Regions from separate parts of the Homo sapiens genome. Here regions 2, 3 and 4 are each linked to region 1. Evidence: promoter capture Hi-C in 16 types of primary human blood cells and fetal thymus (Javierre and others, 2016). All regions are on one chromosome and are shown on one strand. The core of a region is centred on a gene start or on the middle of the fragment in contact, and the rest is flanking DNA. Distances in the headings are between cores, read along the strand shown. Region 1 holds the start of SACS (sacsin molecular chaperone). Region 2 has its middle 21 kb from the start of C1QTNF9B. Region 3 overlaps MIPEP (mitochondrial intermediate peptidase). Region 4 overlaps MIPEP (mitochondrial intermediate peptidase).

Evidence for each region. Contacts are between HindIII fragments. The CHiCAGO score rates a contact against its expected background, and 5 or more counts as called.
Region 2: a fragment that was not itself captured here is called in contact with the fragment with the promoter of SACS in region 1 in 2 of 17 cell types (fetal thymus and erythroblasts); the score reaches 6.0 in fetal thymus.
Region 3: a fragment that was not itself captured here is called in contact with the fragment with the promoter of SACS in region 1 in 8 of 17 cell types (M2 macrophages, non-activated CD4 T cells, M0 macrophages and 5 more); the score reaches 9.1 in M2 macrophages.
Region 4: a contact is called between a fragment that was not itself captured here and the fragment with the promoter of SACS in region 1, in 1 of 17 cell types (M1 macrophages). The highest score is 5.6, in M1 macrophages.

What each region holds. Positions count from the first base shown.
Region 1 is chr13:23,431,724-23,435,305 of GRCh38, forward strand. It overlaps SACS (sacsin molecular chaperone), which reads right to left and starts at 1,979. Exons shown (of 10, transcript NM_014363.6): 1 at 1,892-1,979. RefSeq lists an enhancer at 1,231-1,798. The HindIII fragment of the contact is 4,074 bases long and covers 1-2,646 here.
Region 2 is chr13:23,916,297-23,919,878 of GRCh38, forward strand. It overlaps the pseudogene ANKRD20A19P. Among named protein-coding and RNA genes, the nearest start is that of C1QTNF9B, 21 kb to the left of the region's middle. The HindIII fragment of the contact is 2,014 bases long and covers 613-2,626 here.
Region 3 is chr13:23,862,697-23,866,278 of GRCh38, forward strand. MIPEP (mitochondrial intermediate peptidase) reads right to left here. Exons shown (of 19, transcript NM_005932.4): 8 at 1,445-1,493. Among named protein-coding and RNA genes, the nearest start is that of PCOTH, 24 kb to the right of the region's middle. RefSeq lists an enhancer at 3,425-3,564. The HindIII fragment of the contact is 3,713 bases long and covers 1-3,582 here.
Region 4 is chr13:23,842,561-23,846,142 of GRCh38, forward strand. All of the region lies in intron 10 of MIPEP (mitochondrial intermediate peptidase), which reads right to left. Among named protein-coding and RNA genes, the nearest start is that of PCOTH, 45 kb to the right of the region's middle. The HindIII fragment of the contact is 1,652 bases long and covers 842-2,493 here.

The DNA.
Region 1 (3,582 bases), core at 729-3,228:
ATGGAAACATCAGCGTTCCTTTTATAGACAAGAGGGCTTAGAACAGTGTTTCGTGCATAGCAAGAACTGAATATGTATTTTGTACTGATCAGGACTCATTCAGATGCACTCAGCCAAAAGTTCATTTCAAAATTTATTCCTTTTGGGAAATGGTGCATGAACCACTTTAGCATGCTTCACCATGGTGGTTAGGTAGATGGTGGACTGAGTGAGAAAACGACAAAACTCTTACTAAATAGTGACACTGTGTGAAGAACCCTGCTAGGCGCCTTCATACAAATCACCTGGTTTCAACCCTGTGACCATTAAGTGAATAATTGTGTCATCTCTGACACAGGAGGGAACTGAGGCTCACAGAAGTTATGTGGATTGTCAGGGGCTGCAGAGTAAGGATGTGGTAGACCTGAGATTGGAACCCGGGGCTTCTGGGGGCAAGTCCTGCGTAAAGCAATGGTTTTGAGATGCTTCAGATGTAAGCAAACCTTGGTCTTCAAGTTCTATAATTGGACTTTTCTTCCTATTATGTGAAGAATAGAAAACACTTAATCGTGGAAAAGTTCTTATAAACCAAGTAAGATTAAAGGAAAATAGGGTATGTAGAAAATCTGGCTTGCTTTGTTTGAAAGGGAGACTGAAGGAGTCTTTAAGATCCAAGGAGAAAAGAAAGAAAAAATTGCCCAAACAGCCCAGGAAGGAGAAGAAAGGATGAAAGGGACGGCTAAGGAGGATAGAGGAAAGGAAACTGGGGATCGTTGTCACAGCCCAAAGTGAGGCTTCAGGGCAAGATTAGGGAAGGCAGTCTGGATGGTCATAAGTAAAACTACTGGGACATCATGACCCTGCATTAACGTAGAATGAGTCTGGTTATCAATGGGCAGCTTAAGAAAAACAGAATGGCAAATCTACTTGTCATGTGACAAATAAAATGGGATTGTCAATTATTTATTATTATTATTATTATTTTCATCCATGACCTGTGAATCAATTACTTTTATCTGCACTGATGGAGAAATGAAGAGTTCCCCTTCAAAATAACTTCAGAGCAGCTTGCGCTTGGGAAGCACGTGGATTCAACCTGGCTTCTGCCTTTTACTTAAGCGGAATGGGCTTTATCCATCTTCAGGGGCAGAGAGAATTAAGATTAAAGCCAAAACAATTGATATGTTTTAATAGAAACAAATCCAGTCCTCTTCTCTGAGGTATTGACCTCGTTTTAAGGAAGAAAAAAAGACAGCGAGAGAGAGGTTTTGTTGCTAAAGCTGGAATACTCTTTCAAAGAATCTAATGATCGCTTATTAGAATAAAATTAAATATGTGAAATATTTTTTAACTAAAAGCAGGATTTTCAAATATTATATAAGATAACCATAACATATGGCATTGTTTGAAGGCATGCTGTTTAAAGTGAGAGCAATTCTGCAAATTAACCGTAAGCTACTTTGAGAATCCCATCTTATTGTTCAATAAGACTCTGGACCCCACGCTGTGTTACTGCAACAGCTCCATTGTGGCGGTGCCTGGCAACCCGGGTGGAAATTAAAATGACAAAGCGGCTAGTCCAGCATCTTGACCGCGGCAGATCTCTCTAGTCACCCTGCAGCCGCTCCTCACCCACAAATTCACAAGCAGCCAACCCAAACTGTACATTTTCAGAAGAGCTCATTACTCACAGCTGTACAGCACGCTGAAGGCCCTCTCGTCTCTGTCCTCTCCGAAGGCGGGTATGTTAAAGGAAAGTGGCCCCTTACCTCCCCCAAGCAGCTGCAGTGGCCGAGCCCTGGTTTCCCAAGGCTCAGGGGACGGATGGCCAACAACACCATGGAGCCTGCCCGTCCCCAGGCCGCTCCTGCAGCTGCCCTCGCTGGCCACCCAGCTGGAACCTTGGACTTACTGGGGGCTGTGGGCATCAGGGTCTCTCGGCCTTTGTTTTCCTCCAGTGCCATCAGCAGTTCCCAGCGTGACTGTCCCGCAGCCGCACTGGGTCCAGGCGGCTCCTGCCGCAGTCAGTCGCTCCCCCTACCCAGCAGCCTTTTTTTTTCTTCTTAAAGAGACAGGACTGTCATCAACCTTAGGTGTCAATAATGCTGCAAGTGCAGCATTGTCGTTCATTGTGGGGGTGACAACCAACCACACGTTTTTGTTCTCTTCACTTGCAAAGGCTAATTTTTAGCAGTAGGTATGGCTAACAGAAGACTGGCTCTATTAAACACCAGTTGTGTGACCTTAGACAAGTCACTCATGGGTCTCGAGTACCTCATGGGAAATGAAGACCTGTGACCTGGTAATGTTGTAGCTCACAATCTGCTTTTTGTATGTTATTTGGAGTTGTTTATGAGGTTCCAATGGTTAAAAAAAAAAGCATTCACTCAAAATGTGTGGTAAACTGTGAAATGCTATACAATTGATCCTGTTCTAAGTTGAAATTGCTAGTCTCAATTTAATAATACAAAATATTGTAACTCTATTTTCTTGCTTCCTCTGATGGGGTATGTGAAATACCACCAGCATTTATTTCATTTCGGCGCACAGCTATCCTGCCACTGGCCTGGGTACATCATATTCCTCATGATAGTCTCCTAGTAGAACTGCCTGCTTTATCCATATAAATCTAGAATTTTGGCTTATCTGGAAATACTGGATCTCGGAAGCTTCTTATTGCTTCGTTCCTGCGGAAAATTCCTCTTAAGTCAGTTCAAACAACTCCAGACCTGAAAAGGCTCAAATGATCTCTCCTGGGAGAAGACCAAAGCAAGCCCCAAATGTCAGCAGCAACTGGGGAAGGAGAGCCCCTGCTTCTTGTACCTGGCCCTGCACTGGTCTGACCCAGAAGATGCCACATCTAATGGTGTCTCCTTCACATCCTAGACTCACAGATTTGTGTACATATTATTTCCTGGGAGATAGGTGGGAGACCTGTTCTAACAAAAGGACTGAATAATCACAAACAAAGCACATTTCTATTGGGGAGAAATGGTGTCTTGCAGGGCCTTTTCATTGAGCTCTCACTGTAGCACCGTGTGGACCAACAGGCCCTCGGTGGCATGCGCCTGTGGAGTGAGGCTGCCTCTCTGAGGCTACCACCATTCTTACATGGTTCAGTTGTAATCAGTTTAATTCAGCACACAAATATTGAGCCCTTGCTTGTTCCTGGCATCAGCTAGACACCGTAGACTAAACGGTGAATACCCAGTATGTTGCTCCCCCAGCAGGCTCTTCTACTCACAGCTGTAAACCATTACACCCCCAAAGGGAAAAGTTATAAATAACTACATATATATAAACTATATATATAATATATATGTATAGTTTTCAGAGAGGTTAGACGATTTTGCCTACCTACTCACACTACATAAAAGTATCCAGTGAAATATTGATTATTCAGAAATAGTGTTGCTTAGCCAGGTGTGGTGGTACATGCCTGTAGTCCTAGCAACTCAGGAGGCTGAGGAAGGAGGATTGCTTGAGGCCGGGAGTTTGAGACCAGCCTGAGCAACATAGCAAGACCTCAGGTTGGGCGCAATGGCTCACGCCTGTAATCCCAACACTTTGGGAGGCCGAGGTGGGTGGATCACTTGAGGCCAG
Region 2 (3,582 bases), core at 370-2,869, 480 kb after region 1:
ATCCAGGAAATGAAAGGAGACAATCAACTTAAAAAGAAATCAGTCAGAGCTTCTGGAATTGAAAAACTCATGTAAAGAATTTCAAAATATAACTGAAATCTTTATCAATAGACTGGACCAAGCAGAAGAAAGAATTTCAGAGCTTGAAGACCAGTCTTTTGAACTAACCTAGTCAGATAAAAAAATAGAGAAAAAAGAATATTAAAAGTAAATAGGGTTCTTGAGAAATTTGGGATTATGTAACATAACCACACCTATGAATTATTAGTGTTCCTGAGGGAGAAGGAGAAAAGTAAACAACTTGGGACACATATTTGAGGAAATAATTCAAGAAAACATTCCTAATTTTGATAGAGGTGGTCATCCAAATAAAGAAATCCAGAGAACACCTGTGAGATACTATGCAAAACAAATATCATCAAGGCATATAGTCATTGGACTGTCCATGGTCAATGCTAAAGAAAAACATTTTAAAGGCTGAGAAGGTAAACCTGTCAGGCTAATAGTGGACTTCTCAGCTGAAACGTTGCAAGCCACGAGGGATGGGGGCCTATTTTCAGCATTCATAAATAAAAGAAATTCCAACCAAGAATTAAATATCCTACCAAACTAAGCTTCATAACTGAAAGAGAAATAAAATCTTTTCCAGACAAGCAAGTGTTAAGGGAATTTGTTACCATTAGACAAGACTTACAAGAGATCCCTAAAGGACTTCTAAACATGGAAATGAAAGAATGATACCTGCTACCACAAAAGCATAGTTAATTTACGTAGCTCACAGACCCTATAAAGTAACCATGCAATAAAAACTACATAGCAACCAGCTATCAACTTTACTATAGGACCAAAACTTCACATATCAATATTAACCTTTAATATCAACAGTCCAAATGCCTCCATTTAAAAGGCACAGTGTAGCAAATTGGATAAAAAAAAATCGAGACCCATCTCTTTGTTGTCTTCAAGAGATCCGTCTCACACATAATGACACCCATAGGCTTGAAGTAAAGGGTTGGTGAAAGAGCTATTATGCAAACAGAACACCAAAAAGAGCAGGGGTGATGATTCTTAGATAAAACAGACTTTAAAACAACAGCAGTAAGAAAGGACAAAAAAAGGCATTACATAATGATAAAAGGTTTAATTCAACAAGGAGACTTAACTGTTCTAAATGTATATGCACCCAACACTGGAGCACCCACATTCATAAAATGAGAAGTTCTAGACCTACAAAAAGACTTGTACAGCCACATAATCAATAGTGGAGGACTTCAACACCCCACTGACAGCATTAGATCATCAAGGCAGGAAACTAACAAATTCTAGACCAAAATTGTACACCTGATCAACCGAACCTAATAGACATCTACAGAGTACTCAGTTCATCAACCCCAGAATATACATGTTTCTTTTCTGCACACAGAACATTCTCCAAGATCAACCACATTTTTGGTCATAAAGGAAGTCTCAATAAATTAGAAAAATACAAATCATGCCAATGATACTTTCTGATCACAATGGAATAAAAATAGAAATTAGTACCAAGATAATCTCTCAAAACTACATGATTATATGAAAATGAAAAAACCTGCTCCTGAATGACTTTTGGGTAAACAACAAAATTAAGGCAGAAATAAAAAAAAAATCCATGCAATAAATTATAACAAAGACACAATATACCAAAATCAGTGGGATACAGCAAAAGCAGTATTAAGAGGAAAGTTTGTAGCCCTAAATACCTACATCAAAAAGTTAGAAAGATCTCAAATTAACAATTGAACATCACACCTAGAGGAACTAGGAAAATAAGAACAAACTAGCCCCAAAGCTACCAGAAGAAAAGAAAGAAGAGCAAAACTGAATGCAAATGGAAACCCAAAAATCCATACAAATAATTAATGAAACCACAAGTTGGGTCTTTGAAAGGATAGAAAATCAACAGACAACCAGCTAGCTGAACAAACAGAAAAAGAAGATCCAAACCAGCACAATCAGAAATGACAAAGATGACATTACAACCAATCCCACAGAAATGCAAAAGATTCTCAGCAACGATTATGAATACCTCTATGCAAACAAACTAAAAAATCTACAGGAAATGGGTACATTCCTGGGAACCCACAACCTCCTAAGACTGAATCAGGAAGAAATTGAAACCCTGAACAAACCAATATTGAGTTCCATAATTGAATCAGTAATTTAAAAAACTTAAAAACTCCAACCAAAAAAAGCCACAAACTTGACGGATTCACAGCTGAATTCTACCAGATGTACAAAGAAGAGCTGGTGCCAATTCTGCTGAACCTAATCCCAAAAAAATCAAGGAGGTGGGACTCCTCCCTAAATCAATCTACAAAGACAGTGTCATCCTGTTACCAAAATCTTGCAAAGACATAGCTATACAAGAAAACTACAGGTCAATATCCCTGATGAACATAGATGCAAAAATCCTCAAACAAATACTAATGAATGCAGCAGCAAATCAAGAAGTTAATTCTCCATGATCAAGTAGGCTGTATTCCTGAGGTGCAAGGTTAGTTCAACAAATGTTAATCAATAAATGTGATTCACCACATAAACAGGATTAAAACAAGAAACCACAGTTTATCTCCATAGATGTGGACAAAGCTTTTGATACAATCCAACATGCTTTCATGATAAAACCCCTCAACAATCTAGACATCAAAGGAACAAACCTCAAAATATTAAGAGCTATCTATGACAGACTTATAGCCATCATCATGCTGAATGGGCAAAAGCTGGAAGCATTCCCCTTGAGAGTAAGACAAGGATATCATCTCTCACCACTCCTATTCAACATAGTACTGTAAGTCCTAGCCAGAGCAATCAGGCAAGAGAAAGAAATTAAAGGCATCCATATAGGAAAAGAGGAAGTCAAACTCTCTTCACTGATGATATGATTCTATACCTAGAGAACCCTGAAGACTCTGCTAAAAGGCTCCTGGAACTGTTCAATGATTTTAATTTCAGCAAAGTTTCAGGATACAAAATCAATGTACAAAAATTAGTAGCATTTATATATACCAGTAACATTCAAGCTCAGAGCCAAATCAAGAATGCAATCCCATTTACGATGTCCATTAAAAAATACTTAGGAATACATCTAACTGAGGAAGTTAATATCTCTACTAAGAGAACTACAAAACATTGCTGAAAGAAATCAGAGATGACACAAATAAATGGGAAAACATTCATGCTCATGGATTGGAAGAATCACTATTGCCCAAAACAATCTATAAGTTCAATGCTATTTCTATCAAACTACCAATGCCATTTTTCACAGAATTAGGAAAAAACTGTTCTAATCCTCATATGGAACCGAGAAAGAGCCCATATAGCCGAAGAAGTCCTAAGCAAAAAGAACAAAGTTTAAGGCATTACATGACCCGACTTTGTACTATATCCTATCAGGCTACATTAACCAGAACAACATGATACCGGCACAAAAATAGACACATAGACCACTGGAACAGTATAGAGACCCAAGAAATAAAGATGCACACCTCTAATCATCTGATCTACAACAGATTAGACAAAAATAAATAATGGGGAAAAGACTTC
Region 3 (3,582 bases), core at 519-3,018, 430 kb after region 1:
AGACTTAACAAATTAACTCCTAGAAAGGAATTTTATCATTGGCTACATTTAAGATTTCTAGTCATTTTTCCCCTTTGGAAAAACTCTAGCTGGTCAATAATTAAATAGGTATTTAATATTTGTAGAATATGACATGTATATTGGAATTAATTCCTATATATACCTGTAAAATGATGAAGCTATGCTTGCTCTAAAATCTATAGCTATGTAGAGAAAGACTACTAACACTTAACTAAGTAAAGCAGGATAAATCCTCAATAAGTGCATAACTAACCCTCTTTCTTTATTGTATCAAAGACACAGTGGTTCACCAGGATCATTAAAAGAAAATTTTAGAATTTATAAACATAATCCAAACTAGAGAAGAATGAGTTCTAAGGCATGAGTTTATAGTCCAAAACAGAAATGTGAGCCAAGATCCAATGTGTTGGTGTAGCCACAACAGGCAAACAAAATTTTAGACAGCATTACAAGAGAAAAAGAGAAAACATCATCCTTTTTTACAAACGGTGACTGCTTCTTCCTAGAATCCTTAGTACCTAAAGGTGTGCTGCCTCTCAACTAAGGCCTAGAAGAGGGCCAGTGAAGGGCAAGTGTATGATCGAAGGCACTGAGCAGGGGAGGGGCAGGGGAGGCAGGAATACAGGTTGAGCCTCCCTAATCTGAAAATCTGAAACTTTCTCAGCACTGACATGATGGTACAAGTGGAAAATTCCACATGTGATGTCATGTGATAGGTTGCAGCCAAAACTTTGTTTCAGGCACAAAATTATTAAAAACACTGTATAAAATTATCTTCAGGCTATGTGTATAAGGTGTATATGAAACATAAATGAATTTCGTGTTTAGACTTGGGTCCCATCCCCAAGATATCTCATTATGTATATGCAAATATTCCAAATTCCCCCCAAAAAATGAAATCCAAAACATGTGTGGTCCCAAGCATTTCAGATAAGGGACACTCAACTTGTTATAACAAACGGACACACCAAAGGCAGTAGAACACTTCAGCTTGAAATTACAAATGTTGAGATAGAACATCCTTAAAATACTACACAAAATTAAAAAGACACCACATCCATGAGCCTCCTGTATTTAGGCCAAAAGAAGAGAAATACTACTTTATGAACTTGTCATAAAATTCATGGTACAAGTTAAAATAAATAGTTTCAAAAACATTTTGGTAAAGATTTTTAAAGTGCAAATGAAAGATGAATTTCTAAAAACAATTGTTTAATGAAAGGGGACAGCTTATGTTTTCAAGAATGGCACATAAGGAAGACAACTATGGCCTTTTAAAGTATGTCTCATAGTGAGACAGGTCTGGTCCAATATGCCAAAACTTATATTCTAGGTCACTTCCTAATTTTTTATAAATCAAGTCTTCTTTAAAAAGACTAAATAACATATAACCAAAAAACTAAATAGTAGAATAAAAACTAACCTTTCAGAAAGTTTGTCAGATAGTTTTTCAAGGAACTGCATGACAGTCTCTAAAACGAAATCCAAAAGAAAATATCTTCAATTATGTGAAATAAAATGAACATATCTGTTAAAATTATTATGTGATGATCATAATCTATATCCCACAATTCCCTTAAAGTGATGATTTTCAAAGGGAAGTAGAGCTACCAACATATACCAAACATATAGTAAATGCTTCTAGGTGATGACGATCTTTTAATCAGAAAAAAATTAAATTGGCATACTAATAATCCACAGCGTCAGATTCTATCCCAAAATTAAAAGAGTTAATGGGACCAGGTGGCTCATGCCTGTAATCCTAGTACTTTGGGAGGCTGAGGGCAGGGGGTGGATCACCTGAGGTCAGGAGTTCAAGACCAGCAAGGCCAACAGGCTGAAACCCCGTCTCTACCAAAAATACAAAAATTAGCCAGGCGTGGTGGTGCATGCCTATAGTCCCAGCTACTTGGGAGGCTAAGGCAGGAGAATAGCTTGAACCCAGGAGGTAGAGACTATAGTGAGCCCAGACTGTGCCACTGTACTCCAGCCTGGGCAAGAAAGTGAGACTCCATCTCAAAAAAAAAAAAAAAAAGAGTTAATGGGAGGCTAAAGAAAAAAGTACAAAATTTCAAGGTGTTTCTATCTATTCATATGTGTAAGAAAAAAAAGTTCTGAGACATGTCTGACGTTTTCAGAGTTTTAAAGAGATATCTAGACTGCTTTGTTCATAAAAATAGGTGCAGTGTAGAAGTATAATTCCCTGAAATAAATTTTTTAAGATCAATGTTTTTCTTGATAACAATTTTATTGTTATATACAACTGTAGAATAATCTATTCAGGATAAATATGAAAAAAATAGCAAAATAAGAAAAATAAATATTAACTTCTGATAGAATTTTTAAAGTATTTTTATTAAAATACTTCTGCCATAGTTGTCATAATTTACAAACCCATAAAGGCAGTGCAGTAGAATTATCACCGTTTCCCACAAGAGGAAATGTTTTGCAAGTATTTCTGAATGTAGCACTTTTTATCACTGACTTATGTGTACAGAGCTTTCATATGTATTTTAGTTCACCACAAACACTATGTTTGTATTTTCCAGATAATCTTTTATACAGTTTTAAGTTTCCTGCCCTCTCTTCAATTTAAGTTATCTCCTTTTGAGTGAAATAAAAGACTAAGGAAATAAATAATGGTGGTTAACCTAAACCCAAACCATGAGGTTTCTTGCCACTGTCAATACTTAACAAGTCCTGTGTATACGAATTCTGAAAACACTGGCTCATGTGCCATATGAAACAACAATAGGAATTTTTGGGGAACAAAGACATTATTTAGTCAACAATGAAATCTCATTTTAGGATTATATTCCAGGTACCATACCAAACTGTTTTCAAATGAATCCCTATGTATGCTTGTATACGTTTTATTTCTTAATAACCGTGTTTTAACATTCACCCATCTTATTCTTCCAGTCATTTTACATGTGAAGAATCTGCCTCAATTAATTTTTTTTTTTTTTTGAGATGGAGTCTTGCTCTGTTGCCCAGGCTGGAGTGCAGAAGTCCCATCTCGGCTCACTGCAACCTCTGCCTCCCAGGGTTCAATCGATTCTCCTGTCTCAGCTTCCTGAGTAGCTGGGATTACAGGCACCCGCCACCGCGCCCAATTAATTTTTGTATTTTTAGTAGAGATGGGGTTTCACCATGTTGGCCAGGCTGTTCTTGAACTCCTGACCTCAAGTGATCTGCCTGCCTCAGCCTCCCAAAGTGCTGAGATTACAGGCATGAGACACCACATCTGGCCTGCCTCAATTAGTGTCCCCAGAGAATTGTCATATTAAGATTCAGTTTGAAACCCCCCACTAAGTGCCTCACCGCAGTTACCTCCTCATTCACTAGCCACATGAATGCCCGCCTTAGCCTCAGTCAGCCTCTCTGTCTTCCTTCTGCTCTGCTGAGGACTCACTCCATCACTGTGCATGACAGTTTCATTTCCCTCAGGGCGCCTTCCACAGCCACAGATGCATCTGACAAATGCCCCGAGCTCCTAAATCCCATGGCATTGTTTTGTCTGTACTACTCCATCGACACCGAAAACGTGCCAACCTCTAT
Region 4 (3,582 bases), core at 418-2,917, 410 kb after region 1:
TGCGGGGTGCTGGAAGAGAAGAATGAAGAGCCTTTGTGTCTAAGCAGCTGGCACTGAAAGAGGCAGAGAAGTGAACCAACTACACTGTGTCCTGGGCCTGGTGCAGTGGGCACACGGCTGGCGCTCAACAGACAGTGCTGAAGCATGAACGAATGAGCACTGCAAAATGGGAGGGCAAAGGAGAGCATGATGACTTTACTTGTGGAGTGCAGAGTAGCACCAGGGAAAGCTTCTCGGATAGGAATCAAGAAAGAATCGGCCGGGTGCTGTGGCTCACGCCTATAATCCCAGCACTTTGGGAGGCTGAGGTGGGTGGATCATGAGGTCAGGAGTTCAAGACCAGTTTGGCCAACATGGTGAAACCCCGTCTCTACTAAAAGTACAAAAATTAGCCGGGTGTGGTGGCGGGTGCCTGTAATCCCAGCTACTCGGGAGGCTGAGGCAGAGAATTGCTTGAACCCAGGAGGCGGAGGTTGAGTGAGCCACGATTGTGCCACTGCACTCCAGCCTGGGCGACAGAGCAAGACTCTCCATCTCAAAAAAAAAAAAAAAAAAAAAAGGAATCAGACTTTGCAAGGCAGGGCTGGGATGAGGAATGGAAAATGGGAATCATAATAGGAATTCTAGGCAGAAGCGACAGTATAACTAAAGTATGATGGCATAAAATAGCCTGGTAACTTCTAGAAAGGATGTGGTTAAAGATGAAGCAGTTACCAATGCAGGGATAAATGTAGAAAGAATGGGAGCGGAGTCTGGAAAAGGCAGGCAGGGGCCAGAAAACAGAGGGCCTGGTCCACTAAGCTGAGGAACTGGGACCATGCACCATAGGCCATGGCCTCTAAGCTTCCTCACCAATGCACACTAAAATAACTTTTGAGTATTCAACCTTCTATTAGTACACTCATAAAGTATATGCATGTGGTATTGTTTTATCACATTGCAAAAAGAAAAGCAGACATTTTTATAAGTTGAGATAAAGAAAAATAAATATACATAGAATTTCTAATATTTTATGACTACACTCTCAATGAATTGCTTACAGATGCCATTTGGGAGACAGCTTCTGTAGGCCATAGGGGAGCATCTGATGTTTTCTGGAATGCTGCACAGTGGACAGCATGGAGGGTGGAATGCAGGAGGCAGGGAGGGCTGACAGGAGGACAGACTTCCAGGCTTCAGAGGGTGAACTCTGACAGAGGGCAGTGGGGTCAGGGATGAATGTGTTTTTCCTTTGAGATGCAAACGTCTCAGGACTGTGTGAGTGATTGGATTTGGAGGGTGATGAGAAAGACAGAACAATCTAGAATAACACTCAGGTTTCTGGCTTGGACAAATAAGTGGATGGTAGAGTCACTGAATCAGCCGGCACAATGAACACAAAAAAGGAAGAGGGGAATCTGGGTGTGTTTGTGGGAGAAGAGAGGAGGGTGAGGTGCAATGATGGGAGGAGGATGGAGGGCTCACAGAAAATAAACTCCATTTTGGAGGAACCGACTGTGAAGTGCCCATGAGATACCAGACACTCAGGACCCAAAGCTAAGGAGAACAAGGAGACTTCACTGTACAGATATTAGAGCCATAGAGGGAGACAGGGCCATTAGGGAAGGGCGATGCGGGCAGAGAAGGTAAAGGGCAGACCCCTGAACTACCAGAGGGAGGGGTGGGAAGGAAGACACAGAACAGTTCAGAGGTACTGAAGAACTGAGAGAAAGGAGTGCATGGAAAGAGGGGAGAAAATAAACTATAAAAGGAAGTGGTCCAGGCTTGAGGTTTCCACTCCTGCACATGAGGAGGTTGAAAGTCACCACTCCATCCTAACAAGCAGGAAGCTGAACAAGCTGAAAATCAAGAATCTTCTTAGATTCAGCAGAGAATCAAGGCCACAGAGCAAACTGCTGCCCCCAAAACTGGAAAGAAAGGCAGGCAGCCATAGAGAATCACAGCTTACCAGAGCAGAAACCTCCCATAGAACCTACTACCAAGGCAAGAAAGTTTAAACTATAATTGGTTATAAAAAGCAATTCATTTTTTTGTTTCCAGACAATAAAAACACAAAAATAAAGGAGAATAAAAAGAAACTTTACATATTAAAATTCTACCCTTCTTAAGATTATAATGAACATTTATTTTTATGGAAAAGAAACACAGTAAAGCTAGTAACACAGCTTATTTTACTAAACTATAACCTAAAAATATTTACTGTCTTATCCAATGACCATGACAATCATTATGTGTTGGGCAAAATTCAAGGAAACAATTTATCTTGGAAAAAAAATTTAAGTATAGAATATAAGTTCATATAATATTACAATATTACCCTAAAATGATTGGGAACAAATGAATTTCTAAACTGCCTGTTTTAAAATAAAAACACCTCAAAAATATTAACAATGGGCAAAAAGTATACTGTCTTGTCCCCTGGCTCACTATGCCCACCCCCAGAGGTAAATATCTTGTGTATCCTTCCAGGCATTTCCTATGCACACTCTTAGAAGCTTATGCATGTAAACTTTATGTATATATAAACCTACTTTGGCACAAATAGAATCATACCATTCACACTATCTCGCAATTTTATTTAACATAAAAATATATCAATGATATGTATTTTTACACATATATTTTTCATAAAAATATAACTTGGAATACTTTCCAGTTTAGTATATAAAGCTCTAGCCTGTTTTCTTTCATGGGTGTAGTCATCCACAGCAAACACATGACAAAGCTCATTTCATGCATCTCCTGTTGTGTTGTACATGAGCAGAGGAGGCAAGGTCAATGAGAGCCTGAAGCATCAATGGGGGAAGCATCCGACCACTGACATCGTTTGGAATTTCCCACATATGGGGATATTAAAGGAACCCAGACTTTTCATCAGTTTTATTATTGATTTTAACTTTTTTACAGAAAATGCATCCCGTTAGGCCACACCCAGAGCTCACTTCCCTGCCTTGGTCTGCCTCTGTTCCTTTTAACTGACGGTAAGCTGCTGTTAGTTTATCTGTTAAAGTGATGCCATAGTGAAATGTCCTTGTCACACCCACACAAGCCTATCCATAAGATAAACTGAAGAAATGGCATTGCTGCAAAGAGTACAAGATCTTAAGTTTTTTGATATGTATTTCCAAATTATCCTCTAAAAAAAGCTGTTTCTAACTTACATTCCTACCTGCAGTGTATGAAAATACCTAGTGCTCTCACTCTCGCCAATGTAATTCTGTTACGTTTCTTTTAATGCTTCCTTTATTTTCCTTCTTTAGCTATGTGTGCTGCATTTCCTTTTTCTTTCTAATAATTTGATATATTAGTGATATTTATAGTCTATATTTTAGCTTCTCTGGTGGTTTCTCTATTGTTTTTAATTTTTTTTTTTTTTGAGACGGAGTCATGCTCTATCACCCAGGCGTGCAGTGGCATGATCTCAGCTCACTGCAACCTCCACCTGCTGGGTTCAAGCGATTCTCCTGCCTCCTAATTTTGATACTTTTGGTAGATACGGGCCTCTATTGGTTTTAAAATAAACATTTATTTATTGGTTTAGCAATTTTAGATAATATTTACTGATTCCCCTCCTCCTGCCTT